Linked DNA regions of Homo sapiens: region 2 is linked to region 1. Evidence: promoter capture Hi-C in human tissues and cell types (Jung and others, 2019). All regions are on one chromosome and are shown on one strand. Each heading gives the region's core, a stretch centred on a gene start or on the middle of the fragment in contact. The rest is flanking DNA. Distances are from core to core; before and after follow the strand shown.

Region 1 (4,902 bases), core at 1,606-4,105:
CTCTTCACGGATGCTTTCGGTATTCCATTAAAGCTTAGAAACTTAGTTTTGAGAGATACCAAAAATCATGTGGTGCAATTCACATCCAATGCTGGAACTATATTACTCTTAAATTTGTCCGGGTCAATGTAAGTATTATAAGCTTTGTTAATTCAACAGACATTCATTAAACAACTCTTATGTTCAAGGGAACTGATGACACAAAGTTGAAAAAGTATAAGGTGTCAGCCCTTAAGGAACTTGTCAGGTAGCCAGGTAGTAGAGAATAAATGGTCATTTATTTATCCACTTAGCAAACATTTATTTCATGCTCTATGCACCAACACAGTATCTTGAAAGACTGGTATTATTGTCATCTCTATTTTATAGATGAGGAAATTGGGTCTCAGAAAGGTTAAGTAATTTCTGAGCTTGCGCAATTATGGTGTCTGGCACATTCTAAGCATCTTTTATCCATTAGCTTATTTACTCTGCATAATCACCACCCGTGAGGTAGCTACTTTTGTTAGCTTCATTTACATATACGGAAATGTCATTCTGAAAGGGTAACTGACCCTACTAATAAATGGCAGAACCAGGATTACCTCCAGACAACCTGGTTCCAGCATCTATGCTCTCAACCACCATGTTCTATTGACATATTGTTAAGCCAGTCAGAGTCAAGTCAGTGTGTGAGGGTCATGTAATGAAGAACAATGCAAACAATAAATGGTCAATATAACTTGTGTCAGTTCTTTCAGTTTCTTTGATTTTTCTCTTCACTCCTTATTGTCCAGTTAACTCCATTACCAAAAATAAATTGCAGAGAAGGAAAATGGCACAATGATGTGGGGGTGATTTTGGCAACAGGTTGGGAAAATATTGCTTTGAGTGGGGGCTTCTACCCTCAGTTAACTGCAGGCTTCTAACTCTCTGAAACGTGCACATTTTAGTGTGGATGAGCTTCTTTGCATCTTTCTGGGAGAAGTTCTACAGCTTTCTTAGATTTCCCTGTGACCCATAAAAGGCTTTTAAAAAAAAAAGACCAATTATTAGCCTACTGAAAGCCAATGGAACATTAGGCACGTCAATATTTTATTATAAAAAAATCTATAAATGCTATGGAGGCATTAAAATATTTAGAACAACCCTGTGGTGACACAGAAAATGTTGATGTGATAATGCCAATAACAATTTGAAAGTGTTATGTTCACTTTCTCAACTCTGATTACCTCCTCAATCCATGCATATTTCACTTCCTTTCTTCCAACTAGACTGTACTTAGCAAGGTCACCAGTGACCTTCACCTTGTCAGATCCAGCAACCACTTCTCTATCCTCGAATTTGCAGTATAGTTGGCCACCAGCTCTGCTTCCATGCCATAACTAGTCTGTTTCTACCTTACTGGCTCTCTTTCCCAGTCGCAAATGCCTCACACTTGAGGTATTTAGGTGTATTTAAGTCACGTCTGCAGCCCAGACTGCTACAGTGAGCTCTGTACAACAATATATCCAATTGTCTACTTAACATCACTCCTTGACTAAAATGTAAGCATCTCAGACCAAGTATTTCCAGTCTGGGCATGGTGGCTCACCCCTGTAATCCCAGCACTTTGGGAGGCCAAGCCAAGAGGACTGCTTGAGTCCAGAAGTTTGATACCAGCCTGGGCAATATAGCAAGATCCCATCTCTACAAATAATAATAATAATAATAATAATAATAATAATAATAATAAAAGAGCTGGGTGTGGTGGTGCATGCCTGTAGCCCTAGCTACTTGGGAGGCTGAGGTGGGAGGCTCACTTTAGCCCAGGAATTGAAGGCTGTGAATATTTTCAAATAATTAATTAATACTATTATTGCCTTTCTCGTTTGGCTCCCAGAACAGTACCTGGTCCACAGAGGACTCTCAAGAAATAGTTGCTGAATGAATGAATGAATGTAAAATGGGGTAAATAATTATATTTTTAAATTATTTTTTAAAATTGTACATATATGTATATATAACTGTACAATTTAACAACATGCTATGTGTAGACATTAAAGTGATGGGAAAAACACCAAACATTAACAGCGGTTGTGCATGAAATTAAAAGATTTTTCTTAAAACTCCTTCTCTATTTTTCAATTTTATTTACAGCGTAGTGGTTAAGAATACCAAAATTTAGAGTCTGAGTGAAGACTGCCAGTTACCAGCTGCACAACCTTGGTTTCCTCTTGTGTCAAATTGGCTTAAAAATATACACAGTACCGGCCAGGCGCGGTGGCTCACACCTGTAATCCCAGCACTTTGGAAAACCGAGGCGGGCGGATTGCCTGAGCTCAGGAGTTCGCGACCAGCCTGGGCAACAAGGTGAAACCCCGTCTCTACTAAAATACAAAAGAATTAGCCGGGCGTGGCGGCGGGTGCCTGTAGTCCCAGCTACTTTGGACGCTGAGGCAGGAGAACTGCTTGAACCCGGGAGGCGGAGATTGTAGTGAGCCGAGATCGCGCCACTGCCCTCCAGCCTGGGAGACAGAGTGAGACTCCGTCTCAAAAAAAAAAAAAAAAAAGTATATATCTATATATAGATATATAGATAGACGCAGTACCTCCTTTGTATTAACATCCCTAATAAGCTTTACTGTGAAATTATGGATGAAAGGATCTTTGCACGATGCAGGTACGTAGTGAGGGACAGTAATGTTAGTTGATAACGATTACAGGTATGTTTTATTTTATAATGAAAATACATTTGTCTTCTAAACCTTTACCGAAGGGAGTGAAAAGAACACCTCACCCAAACGCCCGCCCTTATGTGCGCAGCCCCGCCTCCTGTAGGCCCCACCCCACCAAAGGGTGCGCCTGCGCCGTTCTTTTTTCCGTCCACGTGACCCACTCAGGCTCCTCCTTGTCTCCAACATGGCGGCGCCCAGGGGCTCAAGCCGCACGTGAGAAAGTCTGGGCATCTGGGAATCGGAGAGTATAGCCTGTGAGCCGCTTTCCCCTCCTTACTGTCGGTTGCATCCCTTCGACACTCCCGAGGCCGTCGCGGGCCACTGGCCCTCTGCAGCCATGAAGACAAAGCCCGTTTCCCACAAGACCGAGAACACCTACCGGGTGAGCGCGGGAGCTTAGGCAGGGAGCCGCGGGTCTCCGCTGCCTCAGTCGTGAGACAGGCTCTGAGCGAGACTCCAGGGGCCTCAGACTTCTGGGCCGAGTGTGTCACTTTCCTGGAGGCTCCGGCGAAAGAGGGAGACACTGGATGTAGTAAACATGGGTTGGAGGAGGAAAGAAGTGTGGACAGCAAGTTTCACCCATGTTTTATGGGGTCTGGCCAGTCCTGGGAATTTCCTGTAGTCCAGAATTAAATTCACTATTCCAGGAGATTGCTTAGGACCAATTCTCCCCTGCTCTTTTATCTTTAAAGACCGAATTGGGCGAGTCGGCTGGCGGTGAGTGATTCCCAGCTAAGGGCAAATATACAGCGCTTTCTCTGTTTGCCCCTTGATAGATTGTTTCCAGGTCTTCCTTAGGATACAATCATAGGTCTGTATATGTTTAAAAACACTTTTATTGCAGCGACTTTGCTAGGTCCCCATGCTTATGGGAGGGTATGAAACCTAATAGATCTAGCGAGACTAATTGCCAGCATCCACCTAGGCTCACCAGTCTGGCAATGGAAATTTTATTTGAAATGACATAGCTGAGAGAAATTATGCAAACATAGAAGTATTCATTATCTTTGAACAGTGATGCAGTAAATTTGTTTACGGCCGTATGTTTTTCAGTTTATTTTTCCACTTATCCTTTGTGATTAGAGATGCCTACATGCAGCATTCAAATAGATATTAAAGATCTGATAAATTTTAATTAATTATGTATCTTAAATATACTTTCCCTTCCAGTTTCTTACATTTGCTGAACGACTGGGGAATGTTAATATTGATATTATTCACCGGATTGATAGAACTGCAAGCTATGAGGAGGTAAGAGAATGTGATACTAGTCAATCTTCAAGTGTTCATGGTGTTTTAGTTTCTTCTGTTAGTAGAAGTGAATTGTTTTTCAAGGTATTCCTTTTTGGACATGAAATGCTTTAGACCTGTGCTGTTTCATACAGTAGCCACATATGACAAATTGGATTTAAAGTAAATTAAAAATTTGGGTGCCCAAATGTGGCTAGTTGCTAACATATTGAATAAATATAGAATTGGAACATTTTCATCTTTGCAGAAAGTTCTGTTGGGTGAAGCTCTATTAGACAATTGACTTGACTTTCAGCTGTCTTTGTGATTCTAGCCTCTCCCTTTCCCTTATGCATTCCAAGCACTGCTGCAGATCCATATTCCTGAAGCTATAACTTTAAAGTGATTTTGAGGAAGCCCTTTTCCCGGGGCTTAATTTTCTCCTTTATAAAAATAAAGGGGCTAGACTACATAATATTTTCCAGTTTTAACCATACTCTGACTCTGTCATCCCTTTATTTTACTTTTATTTATTTATTCATTTTTTTGAGATGGAGTCTCGCTCCGTCTCCAGGTTGGAGTGCAGTGGCGTGATCTTGGCTCACTGCAATCTCCACCTCCCAGGTTTAAGCGATTCTCCTGCCTCAGCCTCCCGAGTAGCTGGGATTACAGGTACGTGCCACCACACCCAGCTAATTTTTGCATTTTTAGTAGAGACGGGGTTTTGACATGTTGGCCAGGATGGTCTCAATCTCCTGACCTCGTGATCTGCTCGCCTTGGCCTCCGAAAGTGCTGGGATTACAGGTGTGAGCCACCACGCCCGGCCTTGTCATCCTTTTATGCAGAAGTCTTTTTCTGCATCATGTCGTTATTCCTCCTAGCATTTTAAGGTCGTACGTAACATGCCTATACCTTGGCGATCCAATCTCAGTTCGTAATATTCTTCTTTACTATAATCAGACTCCACTCGCTGGG
Region 2 (5,138 bases), core at 2,505-5,004, 260 kb before region 1:
CTCTACCATATATATTTTAGGCATTTTTATGAGAATGTGTCCATATTATATTACACATTTCCTGCCTTATTAAACAGATTATTATATATCAGGAAGGGTTGGGTGGCTTTGTTCTTATCTCTTTTTCCAGCAAGTTTTTTATCAATAGTTTTAATAATGACCTATATCAGTCAGGGTCTAATCAGGAGACAAAGGCACAAGTAAATTGAACAGAGAAAGTTTTATATAAATAATTAACTGTGACAGGGGATTGGAGTAATGGAGGGTTGGCTAGTCAAGGGTAAGAATAACTCTAAAGAATACAGGAATAGCAGATGTTAGGAGCAGCTACCACCTCTGAGAAGACTCCTCGCTACAATGCTAAGCTGCAGATCCTGCTGGAAGAGGTACAGCCATGGCAGTGCAGTTTGCTGGGGGCTCTAGAAATCTGCCCTCTGGAGTACTGGGGGAAGCTGCCTCGAGTGGCTCCAAGGAAGTCATTCTTTGGGAGTTGCTACATCAGCAGCACTACTCTGTGAAGCCCCCCAAGGGGATACTGAAAATCTGCCTTTGAGGAGTACCATGTGTTTCCAGCCACCACGCACTGCAGGAGCTGGGTACTGTAGAAGTATGTGCTACAGAAGCCTGCTGAGATATCATACTGGTATCAGGAAGAGAAACCCCTTCCTCCTCCAGTGTCCCTCCCAGTGTCTTCTGCTGGCAAAGCTTAACATTGAATCAGCTGACAAAGGAGAAATAGTTACAATAGTTACATTATTGCAAAGCAGGCAATGAAGGTGCATTTGGAGCTGAGGGGAAATAAGTTAATATCTGGTGCATAGCCCAGATGACCTGCTCATCAAGCTTTCGGGTAGGGTGAAACTAGAAGGTTGCATTAAATGACAAGACTCAGTAGCTGGCACTCAGCCAAATCCAGCAAGATGACATTTAATAATTTTGCGTTGACCATTTCTAATGTGTATTTTCTTTTCCTTTCAGTCTTTTAAAAAATATTTACTAATTCAGTGAAAATGTTATTTAAACATACATTTGGTTATTAATGAGATTTGAGATTTTTCAAATGCTTATTTTATTCATTTACATTTGTTCGAATAGAAAAGGAAGTACATAAAATTTTACATTAATATCACTGTAAAAAATTAAAAAAATAATTTTTAAGGTAAAGTCTTACAGTCAAATTCAGCAAAACAACTACCTTGGTACAGTGTGGGAGAAATGTTGCTCAACATCATAAGAGGAACAGATTTGAGAGTTGAGCTGAATGCAAGCTTGGTGTGAGTCACTAGCATAATGACTCTGCCAAAAAAAAAAAAAAAAAAACACCTACTTTGATCCCAAGCTGCATAAATTAAAATATAACATGGAGAAATAGATAGCTTTCTAGTCCAGATCTGATTACAACTGGAATATTATGTTTTGTGAGAGTCAATGTATGGGGGTATGGTGAAGTCAAACCTGATTTAGGTCTTTCTTAACTTTGATGGATTTTAGTTAAACACATTCCCATTTCTCTGCATTAGTCATCCTTCCTTGAAACACATTCCTTCAATAAAGTCCTCTGTGACCATTCCAGCTTGAATGAATTCTTCTCTCTTCTGAATTCCTATGGCAACTATTTTTGGAGTCTATTTGATAGTTAGTCATATACAACTCTTCTTTTGTTGTCTTGAACTACATTCAATAACATTATGAAAATCTACCACATAAAGAGAACCACTCATAACATTTGCGTACTGAATAATTTAAATGTTACCTTAGTTACTTTTATATCTTAATTTCTTATTCATTCATATGGTTTTTAGAAACAAACTTAGGATGTGCTATGCATCCTTTTTACGAACTTTTTTCAGTTAACATTGTACCATAAACATACTAGAAAGCAAGTGAGTGAAAGTGAAGTTATTATTGCAGTAGCTGTTCTGAATCACTTCATAAAATGCAAATAACTCCAAATGGCATCTTCACTAATAATGGTATTATCATTTGCAGTACAACTTATGACTCTTTTTTTTTTGTTGAGACGGAGTCTCGGACTGTCACCCAGGCTGGAGTGCAATGGCAAGATCTCAGCTCACTGCAATCTCTGCCTCCCAGGTTCAAGTGATTCTCCTGCCTCAGCCTCCTGAGTAACTGGGATTACAGGTGCCCGCCACCATGCCCGGCTAATTTTTTGTATTTTTAGTGGAGACGGGGTTTCACTATGTTGGCCAGGCTGATCTCAAACTCCTGATCTTGTGATCCGCCTGCCTCGGCCTCTCAAAACGACTCTTTATGAGACACTAGTGTATTAAGAATCTGCAGCTGAATGCTGCTCATCTGGATAATAAGATCCTTAACTGTAAATAAACTGCCTTATTTATCTTTATATCATCACTGCCTAGCACAGTGCCTGGCATATAGTAGGAGTTCAATAAAGGCGTGCTGAACTGAAAAGCTTTTAAATTATTGTGCCTAATTTTGCGTCTCAAAATGTGGGATGCTTTTATAAGCAAAAGAAGGACAGAGACAGTGATTTTTAAATGTTCTGAAGAAGCACAGGAAGTGTAGTATTGTTGCTAGTCAGAAAGGGTCTTTATAAAAGTTTCTTTCATTTGATGAAATAAGGAGTTTTCTATTCAAAGACCTCCATGTGTTGAAAATTGGTAATAGGCCAGGCACATTGGCTCATGCCTGGAATCCCAGAACTTTGGGAGGCTGAGGCAGGAGGATTGCTTGAGCCCAAGAGTCTGAAACCAGCCTGAGCATAATGGTGAAACCCCATCTCTACAAAAAATACAAAAAGTTACCCAGGCGTGGTGGTCAGTACCTATAGTCCCAGCCATCAGGAGGCTGAGATGGGAGGATTACTTCTGGGAGGTCAAGGCGGCAGTGAGCTGAGATTGTGCCACTGCTCTCCAGCCTGGGCAACAGAACAGGAGTCTGTCACAACAAAGAAAAAGAAAATAATAAAAGAAAATTGGTAATGATGAACTGGAATCATATCTAATTAGAAATAACCAATCAGATAGTAAATTATTAAGCCACAACCAAGCATTATGCTGAAAAACATGGAGCAAAACTACTAATGGCCTGTAGATTCAATATTTCATTATCATCTTTGGTTTTGTAAATAAAAGAAATAATATGTTAGAAGAAATTTTAATTTCTTGATAGAACTAATGTTTATCCAGTATTATTTTCTGCCTGAAACTCTTTCTGAAAGTGGCATCTTGCATGAGCCAACATCGATTAGAAATAACATGAAAATACTGATTTGTAGACATGATTCATAAGGATATTTTAGTGGAATGTAAACTGCCACTATGTACATTTTTCAACTTCACTCTGAATTTATTTCAACTGTAAAAATCAAACCTGGTGAAACCCACTTTCAAAATAGAGCCATTTAATAGCTCAACAAAGATTTATTTAACAATGTGGGTGCATACAATAAATCTTGAAATTGATTTGTATTTTTGAATTTGGTGCTTAGAGGAGAAATTAGTAAAGTGAAAAAGATTTCAAATATTGGCTACTTTCTCACTTTGCAGGACTTTGATAAATTATGATAAACTTATAAAAGTTATCATCTGAGGCCAGGCACGGTGGCTCATGCCTATAATCCCAGCACTTTGGGAGGCCAAGGCAGGTGGATCAGTTGAGGTCAGGAGTTCGAGATCAGCCTGACCAACGTGGTAAAACTCCATCTCTACTAAAAATACAAAAATTAGCTGAGCATGGTGGCACTCACCTGTAATCCCAGCTACTTGGGAAGCTGAGGCACGAGAATTGCTTGAACCCGGGAGGCAGAGGTTGCAGTGAGCCGAGATCGCACCACTGCATTCCAGCCTGGGCAACAGAGTGAGACTCTGTCTCAAAAAAAAAAAAAGTTATCATGTGAGTCTCTTATTAGGTCCTTATGAATCCTATTTTTTCTAACATCTGGGATGTTTGAAAGTTATTGATGAGATATGTAGAATTCCCAATAGAGACTCCAGGGAATCAAAGCTTTCTACATAGTAATTCATTACAAAGGTATTTATTGAGGGCCTCTGGTGCGCTAGACAAACTATAAAGCCTTGTGATATTTGGATTTCAAATGTTTTTCTTAGATATTTAGTATTAATGTGAAGCATCTTAAAACATATTAATGTGTTACTATGATTAAAAGCATCTAAATATTGATTGATCCTCCATCAATGAAAAGTGAATCAGTGCATGTGCCATTTTCCAGTTAGGCTAAACCTCTAGATTCTGGTAAGGATCTAAAGCATAGGTAGCATTCCTCTCAAGCCACTTGAGAAATTATGATAATCTCCTTTGAGGTGTATTTTAGGAAGTAGCAGAAATCTTGATCTGAAAGGAGCTTTAAAGATCAACATGTTAAACTTCCACTTCTGGCCAAGATGGAGCAACAGGCACAAGATTTACTCTCCCACCTGAAACAATCACAAAAGAAAAAACAGACAAAATGTATGAAACAACTATTTTCAAGACACTGAATATTGGGCAACCCAAAACAAGGATCTCTGAGAGACAGAAAACAAATGAAATGAGCCCTGCTGGGCCCTATCTTACCACCTTGACATAGTTTCTAGACAGCACCATGAAAAGTGAGAATGTAGGCAGGACCTGAAAGACTCTCTAAGTTGAGAAGTTGTTGCTAGGAGTTGGGAAACAAAGGCAGCGAGAGTTCACAGAAAGAAGTACCGGAAGGCAGCGAGAGTTCACAGAAGGAAGTACCAGAAAGCAGAGAACTGCACAGGGCTAGAACCTTGAAGATCTGTAGAGGGTCTCCCTCAAGTATTCAGCAAGTGCTGATCAGTGCATACATGTCCGGAGAATACCCAAGGCCAGAGAAAGAACCATCCAAAAGAATTTCCAGTAAGACTGGAACACCTCATAATTCACAGAGCAGTGAGGAGAATACTCAGAAAAGTCTTTCCTCCTGCAAACATAAAGAAAATTTAGCAAATAAAGTTTAACAATGTATAACAAGGGTAATACATCATGACCAAGTAGAATTTATCCTGGACTGCAAGGTTGGCTTAGTATATGAAAATCAATCAATATAATTCACCATAGTAGCAAACTAAAAAAGAAAAACCATATGTTCATATTTATGAACATGGGAAAAGCATTTCACAAAGTTCAACATC

The links. Contacts are between HindIII fragments. The study calls those that stand out against the background at their distance.
Region 2: a fragment that was not itself captured here is called in contact with the fragment with the promoter of UTP20 in region 1 in 2 of the 25 tissues and cell types used here (hippocampus and mesenchymal stem cells).

What each region holds. Positions count from the first base shown.
Region 1 is chr12:101,277,250-101,282,151 of GRCh38, forward strand. It overlaps UTP20 (UTP20 small subunit processome component), which reads left to right and starts at 2,856. Exons shown (of 62, transcript NM_014503.3): 1 at 2,856-3,078; 2 at 3,867-3,947. The coding sequence starts at 3,034. RefSeq lists enhancers at 2,555-3,146, 2,880-2,929. The HindIII fragment of the contact is 9,089 bases long and covers 1,370-4,902 here.
Region 2 is chr12:101,020,741-101,025,878 of GRCh38, forward strand. The region is part of intron 9 of ANO4 (anoctamin 4); the gene reads left to right. Among named protein-coding and RNA genes, the nearest start is that of SLC5A8, 190 kb to the right of the region's middle. The HindIII fragment of the contact is 6,963 bases long and covers 274-5,138 here.